Linked DNA regions of Homo sapiens: region 1 is linked to region 2. Evidence: promoter capture Hi-C in 16 types of primary human blood cells and fetal thymus (Javierre and others, 2016). All regions are on one chromosome and are shown on one strand. Each heading gives the region's core, a stretch centred on a gene start or on the middle of the fragment in contact. The rest is flanking DNA. Distances are from core to core; before and after follow the strand shown. Region 1 has its middle 71 kb from the start of PRSS1. Region 2 holds the start of EPHB6 (EPH receptor B6).

What was found. Contacts are between HindIII fragments. The CHiCAGO score rates a contact against its expected background, and 5 or more counts as called.
Region 1: a contact is called between a fragment that was not itself captured here and the fragment with the promoter of EPHB6 in region 2, in 2 of 17 cell types (total B cells and naive B cells). The highest score is 6.2, in total B cells.

The regions. Positions count from the first base shown.
Region 1 is chr7:142,675,019-142,682,406 of GRCh38, forward strand. It overlaps TRB and the pseudogene TRBVA. Among named protein-coding and RNA genes, the nearest start is that of PRSS1, 71 kb to the right of the region's middle. The HindIII fragment of the contact is 1,895 bases long and covers 4,227-6,121 here.
Region 2 is chr7:142,853,722-142,860,810 of GRCh38, forward strand. EPHB6 (EPH receptor B6) reads left to right here and starts at 1,355. Exons shown (of 20, transcript NM_004445.6): 1 at 1,355-1,664. The HindIII fragment of the contact is 5,828 bases long and covers 1-4,123 here.

The sequences.
Region 1 (7,388 bases), core at 3,924-6,423, 170 kb before region 2:
CCCAGCTACTGGGAAGGCTGAGGCAGGAGAATGGTGTGAACCTGGCAGGCGGAGCTTGTAGTGAGCCCAGATGGTGCCACTGCACTCCAGCCTGGGTGACAGAGCAAGACTCTGTCTCAAAAAAAAAAAAAAAAAAGAAGTTTCATAGTTTTTGCTCTTATATTTGGTGTACACCATGTTCTGAGTTAATTTTGGGGTATGGTGTGAGGTAATGATCCAAGATCATTATTAATAGTATTAGTATTTTTGCATAGTGTAATTTCTGTACTATCTGTTGAAAATATTATTTCATCATTAAACTGACTTTACACCATATTCAAAAATGAGTTAACCATAGTGGATGGGTTTATTTCTGATCTTTGTTGATCTTATGTTAATACCACACTCTGTTGATTATTACAGCTTTATCGTATGTTTTTAAATTGGCTAGTGTAAGTCTTTTAACTGTGTTTTTCTTTTTCAAAATTGCCTTGACTATTCAAGTCCTGTGTATCACCATATAGGTTTAGGATCAGCTAGTCAATCTCTACAAAAGGTACTACTAGAATTTTGAGAAGGATTGCTGTGTACTTATTGATAAATTTGGAGATAATTTCTATCTTAACAATACTGAGTCTTCCATGATCACGGAATGCTTTTTCCATTCCTCTAGATCTTTTAAAATTTATCTCAACACTTTATATTTTTTCCATGTATAGATCTTACATTTCTGTTGTTTAATATATTGCAAAGTGCTATTTTCTATAATGTAAGTATAAAACTATTTTTCTTAATTTCAGTTTTGGATTATTACTAGTATTAGAACACATATGATTTTTGCTATACATACTGTATCCTGAAATCTTGCTAAATGGATTTGTTCTAGAAGTTTCTTTGTAGATTTCATAGGAGTTTTTTTTTTTTTTTTTTTTTACATACAGGATCATGTAGTCTGAGATTAAAAAGAATTTTACTTTTTCCTTTCCAACCTGGATACCTTTTATTGCAATTTCTTATCTGACTGTACTGTCTGACATCTCCAGTGCAATGTTGAATAAAAGTAGTGAAAACAGACATTGTTACTTTGCTACCAATATTATAGGCAAAGCATTCAATCTCTTCAAGCTTTCATGTTTAAGGTGAGTGTTTATTTCTTTCATGCTGTTAGTCAGGATGAGAGAGTTCAATCTGTTCATAATTTGTTGAGATTTTATTATGATTGGGTACAGGTTATTTTGTCAAATTTATTTTATTGCACACATTGAGATAATAATCTGATATGTTTTTATTCTATTAATATGGTATATTACATTAGTTGATTTTGGATGTCAAGGCAATCTTGCATTGGCGGGATAAATCCCACTTGGTCATAGTATATAATCTTTTCATATATGGCTAAATGAGGTTTGCTAATATTTTATGGAGACCATAGACATACTAGTTTGTAGTTTTCTTGTGATTTCTTTTTATTTAGAATCAAAGTAATTCTGACCTGTTAGGCTGAATTAGGAAATTGTGGACTGAACTTGGATGAATTTAGGAATAATCTCTTATTCTTTATTTTGTGGAAGTTTTTTCTTGTAGGAGTGGTATTATTTAAATATTTGATGGAATTTACCAGTAAAGTCAGCTAGTCCTGAGCTTGTCTCTGTGACATGGAGTGACAAACTATTGCTCACATGTTAAAGTCAAGCTATGGCCTATATTTGTATTACTCATAAACTAAGAATAAATTTTATACTTTTAAAGTGTTAGAAGACGGAAGAGGAGGAATAGGAGAAAAAGAACTGACAGAGGTTGCATATGGCCCAAAATATTTACTATCTAGCTCCTTACTGAAAAATTTTGCTGACCTCTGCTCTATATGGTGTTATTTACTAAAATACTTCTTTACTTGTAATATGTCTATCCAGACATGTGGCTTTTTTTCTTGAGTTACTCTTATGTCTTTCTAGGAATATGTCTGCTTCACCCAAGTTGTCAAATTCATTGACATAGTGTTGTTCATAACATTTCCATATATTTCTATAGGGTTAGTAATTGTATTCTTCATTTTCACTCCTGACTTTGCAATTTCTATTTTCTTGCTTTTTATCTTGTTCAGTCTGACTAAAGTGTTATCAATTTTATAGCATTTCAAGTAAACAGTTGTAGTTCCATTGATTTTCTCTATTATTTTTCTATTATCTATTGAATTGATTTTTAATTTGATCTTTTTTTTTTTTTTTTTTTTTTTGAGATGGAGTCTTACTCTTTCGCCCAAGCTGGAGTGCAGTGGTGCTATCTCGGCACACTGCAAGCTCCGTCTCCCAGGTTCACGCCATTCTCTTGCCTCAGCCTCCTGAGTAGCTGGGACTACAGGCACCCGCCACCACGCCCAGCTAATTTTTTGTATTTTTTCTTTTTTAGTAGAGACGGGGTTTCACCGTGTTAGCCAGGATGGTCTCTATCTCCTGACCTCGTGATCCGCCTGCCTCAGCCTCCCAAAGTGCTGGGATTACAGGCACAAGCCACTGCGCCCGGCCTAATTTGATCTTTGTTATTTCTTCCTTATGTTTACTTTTGGTTGACTTTTCTCTTATTTTTCCAGTGTCTTCAGGTAGAAGTTTAGATTATGATGGAAACTTTTGTAGTTGTTTTCCTAATGCAGTTATTTAAAGTTATACATTTCCCTCTAATCATGGCTGCATTCCATGTACATTGATATATTTTTAGTTTTTTAGTTAAAAGCATAATTTTTCTAGAAATTCCTTTTGAAGCCCATGAGTTATTTAGGAGTGTGATGTTTAATTTCCAAATATTTGTGATTTTTCCAGCTTCTTTCTGTTGTTTATTTCTAATTAAATCCCTCTGTGATGAGAGAATATACTTTGAATTATTTTAATCCTCCTATCTGTATGTTATTATATAACATATAATCTATATGGGGAAATACTCTATGAGCACTTGAAAAAGTGTACATTCTGCTGTTGCTGAATAGTGTGTTCTAAAATCATCAATTAAGTCAAATAGTTTAGTAGTGTTTTTCAGGTCTTTTTACCCTTATTTACTTTCTGTCTAGTTGGTGTGGTCAATTTTTCAGACTGGAGGATTTAAGTCACCAACTATAATTTTGGTATGTTTATTTTTGTTTCATTTCTGTCATTTTTACTTTATGTACTTTGGGACTCTGTTGTTAGGCCCCAGGAGTTACTCCACAATGCTGTACAGGCAAATGCTTTCTATACTAAAAGTAACTAAACTTAGAGATTTGTGAGTACCATCAAGCATACCCATATATGTAAAATTGGAGTCTTAGAAAGAGAGAAGTGAGAGAAAGACAAAGAAAAAATAATGGCCACAAACTTCTCAAATTTGTTGAAAAACATTAATCGAAAGAATCTAGAAGCTTAACATCTCTCAAACACAGTAAACACAAAGATATCTATGTCTAGCTACATTATAGTTAAACTTCAGAAAGCCAAAATCCACAAATAATGTATTGAAATCAATATATTTTTTCAACAAGAGAAAAATGACTCATCATTTGAAAGAGAAGAGCAATACAATTAATCTGACTTTAAATCAGAAGTCATTGTTTCTGACTTTAAATCAGAAACAATGGAGATCAGAAGATAATGGAGAGGCACTGAAAGAAAAAAATTCCACCAAAAATTCTATATCCAGCAAAACTATCCTCTGTAAATGAAAATGAAATAAAGACATTCCCAGATAAACAAAGGCTACAGAATTGTGTGGTTAGCAGACCTGTCTTACAAGAAATATTAAAGGAAGTCATCCAGCTGAGAGAAAATGACATTGTTAGCAACTAAAATCCATAGTAAGAAATTAAAAGCACCTTAAAGGATAAATATATGTGTGAATAAATATAAAAAATACATATGCACAAACACACATAGAAGGAATATATATTTTGTATATTTTTTATATCATTTGATATACATATATAGGTTGAAACTTTAATCATTATGAAGTGTTTTTCTGTAATAATATTTTTTGCTTTAAAATTTATTTCTCTGATATTAATATAGCCACTCAAGCTTTTATGGTTACTAATATGACATATGCTTTTCCATACTTTACTTTCAATATATTTGTGTCTTTAAAACTAAAGTGATTTCCCATAGTCAGAAAATAGTTGGATTTTGGTCTTTCTATTTTACAACATAAAATCAACTCAAAATAAATTAAAGACATAAGCATAAGACCTGAAATTTTTAAAATACTATTAGAAAACATAGGGGAAAAGCTTCTTAATACTGGTCTTGGTAAACAATTTTTAGATATTACTGCAAAAGCATAGGCAACAAAAACCAAATTAGACAAGTGGGATTACATCAAACTAAAAAGTTTCTGCACAGGAAAGGAAAGGAAAGGAAAGGAAAGGAAATAATCAACAGAATAAAAAGGCAAGCTACAAAATGGGAGAAAATATTTGCAAACCACATGTCTGAAAAAGGATTAATATCCAAAATATATAAGAAATTCACACTCATTAGCAAGAAAACAACCCAATTAACATATGGCCAAATGACCTGAATAGACATTTCTCAAGAGAAAGCATACAAATGAATAAATGTTTATCATTGCTAATTATCAGAGAAATATAAATTAAAGCCACAATGAGATATCACTTCACAACTGATACACTGGCTAACACTACAAAGACAAAAGATAACAAGCATTGATAAGGATGTGCAGAAAAGGGAATCATGTACATTGTTGGCAGAAATGTGTGATGGTTAATATTGAGTGTCAACTTGGTTGGATTAAGGATGCAAAGTATTGTTCCTGGGTGTGTCTGTGATGGTGTTGCCAAAGGAGATTAACATTTGAATCAGTGGACTGGGAAAGGCAGACCACCCTCAATATGGGTGGGTACAATCTAATCAGCTGCCAGCATGGCTAGAATAAAAGCAGACAGAAGAATGTGGAAGGACTAGACTGTCTAAATCTTCTGGCTTTCATCTTTCTCCCATGCTGGATGCTTCCTGCTCTCAAACATCGGATTCCAAGTTCTTCAGTTTTTAGACTCTTGGACTTAAACTAGTGATTTGCCAGGGGCTCTTGGGCCTTCGGCCACAGACTGAAGACTACACTCTCAACTTCCCTACTTTTGATGTTTTGGGACTCAGACTGGCTTCCTGGCTCCTCGGATGGCAGAAGACCTATTATGGGACTTTACCTCGTGTTTGTATGAGTAAATACCCTTTAATAAACTCCTCTTCATCTATCCTATTAGTTCTGCCCCTTTAGAGAACCCTGACCTAATACAGAATGTAAATTAGTACAGCCATTTTGACAAACAGTATGGAGGTTCCTCAGAAAATTAAAAATAGAACTATCATATAATCTAGCAATTCCAGTTCTAGATATAAATCCAAAGGATATGAAATCTGTATGTTGAATAAATATATGTACTCTTGTGTTCCTTGAAGCATTATTCACATAGCCAAAATACAGAATTAACCTAGGTTTCCACCAAGGGATGACTAGATGAAGAATATATGATATAAATTCTGTATATGTATATATAAATATATATATTATTTATACGTATATGTGTATACATACACACATACACACACACACACAATGGAATAATACTCAACCCTACAGAAAAAGGCAATCATATAATTTGCAACAACATGTTTGGACCTGGAGACATTATGCTAAGTGAAATAATTCAGGCACAGAAAAACAAATAATGCATGGTCTCACTTATTCATGGAATCCAACAAAGTCAAACCCACAGAAGCAGAGAGTAGAAGGGTAATTGCCAAGCACTGGGATGGGGTTTCAGGAAGGGAGGCATAGGAAATAGGGAAATGTTGGTCAAAAGGTACATGTTTTAATCAGACAGAAAGAAGTTCTAGAGACCTAATATGCAGCATGATTACTATAGTTAATAATATATGTACTCTTGAAAATTGCTAAGAATGTAGATTTTAAATGTTCCTACCAAAAAAAAGTCAAAACAAAATAAGTATGTGAGATTATGCATATGTTAGCTTGATTTAATTATTCCACAATGTATACATATATTAAAATGTCACAATATCACATTGTATACAATAAATATATATAATTTCTATTTGTCAATTTTAAATAAATAATAAAGAAATGAGATAGCTTTCAACTAAGCTTATATAGCAGTATAATATAAAAATTTTTGTAGTAACAAAATTATAGTAATTTTGGCTTATACTGAAATGTGCATTAAACAAGTGTTTGCATAAAATATAATTCAAATTACTATTCATAGCCCACAGCCATGAAAACATGTGTGCCTTACTCTTGGTACAGAAACAAATAGCTTTTACTCCTAAGGAAAAAAGAAAATTCCTGCCTTTTGATGAGAATTGTTTGAGTTTTATACTTATTTTATGGGGAACTTTGCTGACCTCTTCATTCCACCATAGCTGGTTATTCCTCCCTTGCATGTACTTTTGTTTCCTGGGGGCAGTGAGTCTTGGAAACATTTGGGAAATTCTTATTCTGAGCTTGCCTGCCCACAGCCCAGGTTCCTTCCTGGAGTCTGCAGCACCAGGCTCTCTCCTTGGCTCTCTTTCTGTCTTCTGTCCCCTCAGCTCATAAACCCCAGCTCGTAGAAGCTGAAGCCACCTAGACTCTAAGACACCTGATTGCAGAGACAGGAAAGGAGTTCTCAAGATAAGTGCCAAGATTTCATACTGGTTTTCACAAGAATCAGGGTTGGAATTAGAGCCGACTCATTATTCAGTTAACATTGACATTGTTGATTAGAGACATATCCCTATTGAAAATATTTCCTGGCAAAAAATAGAAGTTCTCTTTGGCTCTGAAATCTGCAACTCCCTTTCAGATGTCCCTGTGTCCTTGTACCGTCACTCCACAGCACTGCACAGGCATGTGCTCACCTCACAAAATGGCAGTCTCAAAGGGAGGAGTGCCCACCCACAAGAGGCTCCACCCTATTCTGAGAAAGAACTTCTTTCAGAGGAGGAGAGAATAGAACTTTCCAGAACCTTTTACATGAGATTTTTTTTTTTGGGTAGGAAGTCTGACCTGAGCAGCAACCTTGCATCAGACTTCAAAAGGCAATATTTCCTATACCTCCTTGTGCTCTACTAGTGAGTACAGAAGTCGAGAAAATGTTCCTAAGTCTATGGCCAGTTCAAATAGTCTCATTTTCTATTTCTGAGATTAAATTATATGTATTAAGATCCTTACTCTGCCCTTTCAGGTTTATTGCTCCTCAGACAAGATATCCCCTCTTCAGGTCCCAAACACATTCATTGCAATGCCTTTCCTCATCCTTGTCCCAGTCCTGGCTCTCTAGCTTCTTGAGACAATAACCCACCCTAAGGTATGTTGTGACATGCATCTTCTGTGTCACTGGGATCCCTAAGTGGTACAAGCATTCACTC
Region 2 (7,089 bases), core at 105-2,604:
GATATTAAGAGTGAACAAACCCCTGGCCAAGTGGGAACTTGCTCGGTAGCCTTTATCTTTCTATCACTCATTCAGTCAATTCATTAAAGCCTGTTTGTCTCTCCCAGGTGACTCTTACTGAGTTTCATTGTTTTGTTTATTGTGTTTGTTGGCTCATAGATCTCTTTCACAATTTTCTTCGGCTTCTGAATGCTCTTTAAGTACCAGTTTTGATCAGCCCATTTGCTTTAATAAACAGGAGAGCAAGATGGGACAGGGCGATACAGGGAGAAAAGGGGGCAAAGGGAATCGCACCGGGTGCTTGTGCTCCCTAGAAAAACCAGCAGGTGGTAGCAACACTTCGTGGCAAGGCCCCAGCCCAGCTCTGTAGGACCCAAACAATAGACCCCAAATCCCCGTCCTCGGCTAGAGAAGGGGTTAGAGGTGGGCGGAAACACTTTTCCTCGCGGCGCCCCCTCGGTTCCTCAACCCTGCCTCCAGGCGCCAGCTGAGAGCACCTTGCACCGCCCCTCCTCACTGCAGGGAGGTTCTCTCCGGAGCGCGGGCGAGGGAGGAGGCACCCAGAGGTGCAGCGACTTGCCCAAGCCATGTCAGAGCCAGGCGTACAGCAGCGCTTCCCCTTTTCAACCCGACTGCCCTGCCCCTTGGGGAGGGTAGATGGAGGGAGGTTCGACTCAGAAGCCCCAACGTTGACCAAGATCCAGACACGAAAAGAGAAAAGAGTTCCCGGCTAGCACGGCGACGCTTTCATACCGAGACGCCCCCCTCTCCCGCTGCCTCGGCTCCCCCTACCACCGCCCGTACTCTCCCAGATTTCTCAGTTTGTCTTTCCCTCCACCCCCTGCTTTTCCTTCCTTCTCTCTTGCTCAGCTCACGCCCACCTTAGTTCCAAGCTGAGTAGGAGCCCCACTGTTTTAGTTCCTAGAGTTAAAGCCGAAGAGGAGGGAGGCGCGAGGGGGTGTGTGCAGGGCTCTGCCCTGCCCTGAACTGCCACGGTCCGCCAGTTGCGCTTCGCTCCGCGGGTGTCCGACCCAAGCCGAGCCCGAGCCCGAGCCCAGGCAGGGGCTTTACAGACAGCCTCTTCCCTTCCCACTTCCTGCAGGCGCCCCACGCGTGCGATCCTCCCGGCCAAGACCCGCGGGAGGAGGCCGCCCCCTTCCCGGCGCACAGGCGGGGCCCCGGGCGCGCCCCGCGTCTCCCCCGCGCGCCGGGGCGGAGGAGCGGGCGCCGCGCACTCACCGCCTAGGCCGGGAGGGCGGGCTCGGCTCCCCGGAAGAAGGGAGTGGGAAGGCGGCCAAAGGGGCTGAAGGGGCGGGCCGGGCCGGCTTGGGAGGGGACGCGGAGGGGGCGGGCCGGGCTGCGTTCGCTCCAGCCGCGGCTCTACAGCAGCGGGCGGCGGGACCCGGGACCCAGCTTGGCGACGGCGATCTCGACGCGGGCCCCCAGGATCTCCCGGCGCCCCACCTCTGGAGCAGCCCCTGCCGCCAGCGTCAGGTCCACCCCGGAATCCCAGGGACTCTCGGCGCCGAACGGACCCGGGCCGGGTGCAACGGGGTCCCCGGACTGGAGAAGACGCGGGTGGCACCGTGCGAGCTCCAGGAGCCCCGGGTCCACTGCGAGGCCTCGGGGGGCGCAGACCTGCAGAGACTGCGGCCAACGGGAAGGTGAGCCCGCGGGGTTAGCAGGCGGCGTTGTGGGGGTCGGGGACAGTATGCTTGGGGACAGAGGAATTAAGGTTTGCAAGAGTAGTGGGGCTCCTCAGCCCCTAGGTGGCTTCCTGAGGGAGTACTGAGGATCCTTCCTCAAGGCCAGAGTGGGGTTCATGAAGGGTGAGGAAACGGTCAACCTGGCTACTCCCCTCTCACTCCACTCTGACCTGGCATCATTGACACCGCATTACCCTTGCTGTTAGGATCCCCCAGTTGCGTTCCCAGACATTCTCCTCTGGCTCTGGCTTGGGAGTCCTAATCTGGGAGGGTCCTCGCAGAGACGGAGCTCCACGCTTGGAACAGGATTGCCACCCCTCTGACTCCAGTGGCATCACTCCAATCCCCTTGGAGCTGGGAGGAGTCAGGAGGCTGACCACACACCTGTCCCCTGCTCCCCACAAGGCACTGTCCCCCCCAGCTCCATGACCACAGTTAAGCCTTGGAGGTGGAAGGAACGCTTGGTTCCTGCTGCCCAGCCATCACCCCCAACGTGCAACCAAATTCTATTGCGTGCTCCTGCCCCAGCTCCACCCTCGCTCTGCTCCCTCCATCTGGGTGCTTGGCCCTGCTTGCCCCACACCCCCACCCACCGATCTTGGCCGTCTGGCACCCTCTCTCCTCCCATCCCTGGGGGAGCTGGCATGGACCCAGCATAGCAATGTTGTAATGTCCCTGGCAGCGCCCATGGAGCGGAGCTGCTGGGTCTGTTCCCAGTTAACCCAGGCCCTCCGCCCGCCAGGGGAACTTGACTGAGGCTCTAGGAGGGGAGATGCTGGTCCTGAGCTGAGAGACCAGTGGGAGGGAGCTGTGTGGGGCTGTTAGTAGACCACAGAAGCTGCCCAAGTAAGGGGCATTGGAGCATTGAGGCTTCTGAGTGCTGCTCAGTGGGGCCACTTGGCTTTTCAGAGCAGTGGGCCTTTTTTCTCAAAGGAAGATTAGCGTGGGGGTGTCTATGTACTTACCTGGTGGCCTCAGAAGGAGGACTTGTTTGGAGTCTATTACTCCATTCAGGGTGCAAAAAGATGGTTGGCAATGACACTGAGTTACCAGAATGCTGGGGAGCAACAGGCTGGGGTGGGCTGAGCATGGGAAAGGCAGGATCCTCCTTCTGGGACGGCTGTTCTGCTATCACTCTGTCCTGAGCCTGGGCCCTAGACCCTGAGTTCCCACTCTAGGTAGAAGGAGGATGGCAGGTTCTGGAGGGTTTGGGAAGCCTCAGGTTTCCCTTTCTTTACCCACTCCTCCCCGCCCCCCACTTGGCTCCCTCTCCCAGCCCAGGTGTTTCTGCAGAAGTACCTCCTGGGGCCAAGAGCAACTCACAGCCAGACTGGGGGTAGAGCAGGGGCCGAAGGTGAGGAAGAAGGGCCCATGGAACCACTCCGGAACCAGCACTGATGTGCATCTTCTGCCACAGGAAAGCAACAGCCCCCATCTACACAGACAGCATCTGCTCCCGCCCACCTCATCTCATACACATTCCCTTACACACTCCACCAGGTAGACACACATCCTCAGGCACTGCTGACGCAGGTGCTACTCCTGGCACTCAGGGGCTTTCTTCCACAACCTTCCACTTACTCATCTCTCAGGCACATTTGCCTCCTGCCTTAACACCCTCCCTTATGCTCTTTTCCAGAGCCACGCATGTCCCCGGTCAGTGCACAGAGTGGCTCATTCTAAGTGGCTGTCTGGCTAGACCTAGACACTGCCTGCATCTTAAAAGCCTCCCCCAGCTCCACAGCCTGGGAGTGGGAGGCACATTTGTCTGAGTCACAGTGCTCTGGGGGACATTCTCAGGGGCTGGAGGCCTCCAGGGACACAGGACTGTCCTCTGCTAGGTAATCTACAAATTGGCTTCTCCAGCCAAGGAAGCAGGGACTAGAAGAGCCGGAGGACAGCCACCTCCTCACTGTCTGTCCTGGATGCCTCCATGAAGCCTGATGATGGGATCCTTCTCAAGGCAGGAGGCCAGAGCACGAAGAGATCTCCAAGGTGGAGATTAAAGGATAGAGGCTTTGGCATTAAACTGAGCAAGGATTATACTGGAATTTCCTGGGCGTTTAACAGCTGTGGAACAGGATAGGGGACAGGGCCTGTGGTACTGACCCCTCCCACACTGACCTGTGTGGCTCACAGGTGTAAGGACCAGCCCAGCAACCACACCAGACATAAAACCTCGAACCGCTTTGCCCTTGGGACTGTTCTGTCCCTGCTGGACTCTGCAGCCTGCTTTGTCTCACTAAATTGTTCCTGTCTGGGCTCGGTTTGGGGCCATGCCCTTTACTATGTGTTCCCAGTGGACAGTCCCCTGGGTTCCCCTCTGTCCCTTCATAGCCTCATCCCTTTGCTTGACATCGTCGAAGAGAAGCATGCATGATGTCAGCAGCGGGACAGTTGGAACTTCTTGGGAGACAAGCTTAAAGACTAGCCAGAGATAACAATTATTTTGGTTTTCTTGTTGGCATTACTTCACTCATTCATTCTCAGCTCCTACTGTATTTCCACCTCTACCTTCTTCTTATAGATGAACATTTCTTGATATTTTGAAACATAGAAGGAAAATGGCATGGGGAGTGAATAAAATGTAAACGTATGCTTATTTGTCTAGGTTTTACAAATATTTTTCTTTTTTGTTTAGATTTTAATTATGAGATTTTACGTTAATTATAAAAATAAGGTATGCTTACTGTAACAAGAAAAATAATTGAATTATGTGTAAGACAAAATTAATGCCCCCACCTACAATCCTTCATTTCTACCTCCCACAGTAACCCATTTTAATGGCCTAATATGTCTTCTGCCTACCTTCCTCCAAGCTTATTTGGCTTACATTATTTAATCTTTAAAAATTCACTTTGTGGATTGAGGTGCATAAACTATATTAAGTAAGCTTGATTTGCTCATGAAAATATCATATTTAGCATTTAATTGGAGCACGATTAATTTTTTAAATTCTTACCAATTTACCAATTTAATTTACTTTTAAGTCATTCTTTTTTTTTTTTTTTTTTTTTTTTTTTTTTGAGACAGCATCTTGCTCTGTCGCCGAGGCTGGAGTGCAGTGGCACGATCTCGGCTCACTGCAAGCTCTGCCTCCCGGGTTCACGCCATTCTCCTGCCTCAGCCTCCCCAGCAGCTGGGACTACAGGCACACGCCACCACGCCCAGCTAATTTTTTTTTTTTTTTTTGTATTTTTAGTAGAAACGGGGTTTCACCGTGTTAGCCAGGACGGTCTCGATCTCCTGATCTTGTGATCCGCCCACCTTGGCCTCCCAAAGTGAAATATTTCATTTTTATAGCAACATAACTCGTAAGCTATGCTTTGTAACCTATGATTCTACAAATCTTTACTTTTTGCCAGTTTCTGAAAACAAAACACAACCTTGATACCTAAGAAACAGTCTTATTTTTGTAAACCAAAGAGATGTAGCAGGCTTGTGGATCTATTGTCTCTACTGTATCAAAAAGATATTAAGTGATATATCTATAAAAGAAGCTGAGAACATATTATAAAGTCATAGACTGCAATTTTTGTTACCTAAAACTTTGTCTAATCCGTCTCGTTTTCTCCACCATTGTTTTATGTTCACATTTCTGCTGCTTCTGGTTTTATATTTTTAAAACCTTATACACATCTGAAATGTGAATATTTTTCTAAAGGAGATAAGTTCTTTTGCACATTCTTGTGTTAGAGAATTTCTAAATACTGACCAGTTCCTTTTGTAAGTCAGAGGAGAGAGGACTCTCAAGCAGGCTGTGAGAGAGGAGCAAGGGGCCTGGCTTTGCAGAGGCTGCTTCCCATCTCTGTGGCAGGAGAAATGTACTGGCCTGTCCCTGGGATGCTCTCCTGGACCAAATGCAGAAGATGCTCCATGCCCACAACCATTGAAGACACCTTTGAAAAATCAAGTTCTGAGTCCTGCTTACTTAGCATTCCAGGCATGTGGAGCAGCCGTGTTCTTGTCACTTATGTTTCTGCCTTTGAAATTGGCTTCAAAAGAATCTGCAGTGGTATGAATTTGCTGACAGCAATTTATTCCATATCTTAATAAAGCTTCCTTTTTCTTTATTTGGATTCCTGCAACAGGGGTACACCCATATTCTTTTTATATATTAAAATTAAAAGTCTTGAATTTATCTGGTTTGTTTGATAAGTAAGAACTCACCTAACTTCCTAGTCTGACTCAGCAACAATTTTTTTTTTCTGAAAAAATGTATTTATAACCTTCAGTCATCTGGATCTGAATCTAAAAGAGGTCCTCATCAAACATTAGAAGTATCCTTCTGGGTACTTTAAGATCCTCAACCATTTCTTTTTAATGAATATCTTTGTTCTTAGTAAAATTTCAAAAAATTGCTGAAGTGGTCATCCACAGGCAGTGTCTCCATTTTCTTCTTTTCTTTATGCTGTTTCTTGATGGCAGAAGCTGAGTGGCCTTAACATCCATGTTTCATAATTGCTTTTGCTCTTTTCTGGATCTTCTGGAGGGAGGCCAGCTTCGTGTTGTCATTACGAGGCATGCTAAGGCTATGCAAGCACGCCCTATTGCAACCACAAGTGACTGTGTTCCTTGTAGTTCGGGTCATCAAAGCAAATATCTTGCTATTCATCTTCCAGAGTGTTCCATATTGGACAGCTGATACTATCTGCAGCGCATCTTTTCTATCTTGCTTGGCTGTCTTTCAAAATAATTCATTGAAATATTTCCAAAATATTTATTGTTCCTTCTTCATGATTATTTGCCTAGTTGTAAGCTTGAGAAGACACAGGGCTTACTGTTTCTTCTTTGTACAGATTACAGAATCCATCCATGTTCTGAGTGAAAGAAAGAGACTATTTTAAAGAATAACTTCTAGGCAAATGGTAAAATAGCCTTCATTGTTTAAAAACCTGCTGCTGGCATTTTCTTTCCCTGATAACAGTATTTCTAAGGACTCCGTGACTCTGGTTTGCTTCAGTGTGTCAAGCACGTCTCCAAATTAAGCCATTGAGAGTTTGGAGGGGATGCACTTACAACATGAATTACTTTAGGATATTTATTAAACAGCCACTGGTGACGGTGCCAAGGTTACAGAATTTAATAGCTATGCCTGCTTTTTACTTCATGATCTCCCCGTTCCTCTCCAAAGCATTTATTTCATCTGTGAAGGATCCTAGTAACATTTCAGACATTTTTGCAAAGAACATTACTTAAGAGCAATTTGCCATATGGAAATGCTCCTTACTTGTCTCCATAGGCTGTAAATTGAACTCTCTATTTCACAAATAGGGTTAAAGATGTATAAAAGGTGAGTTTCAGGGGCTAGTTGGCAGGTGCCCACTCTACATCAGCCCACGCGTATGTAGAAATGGTGTATTTCCATGATAACTTCATGGAC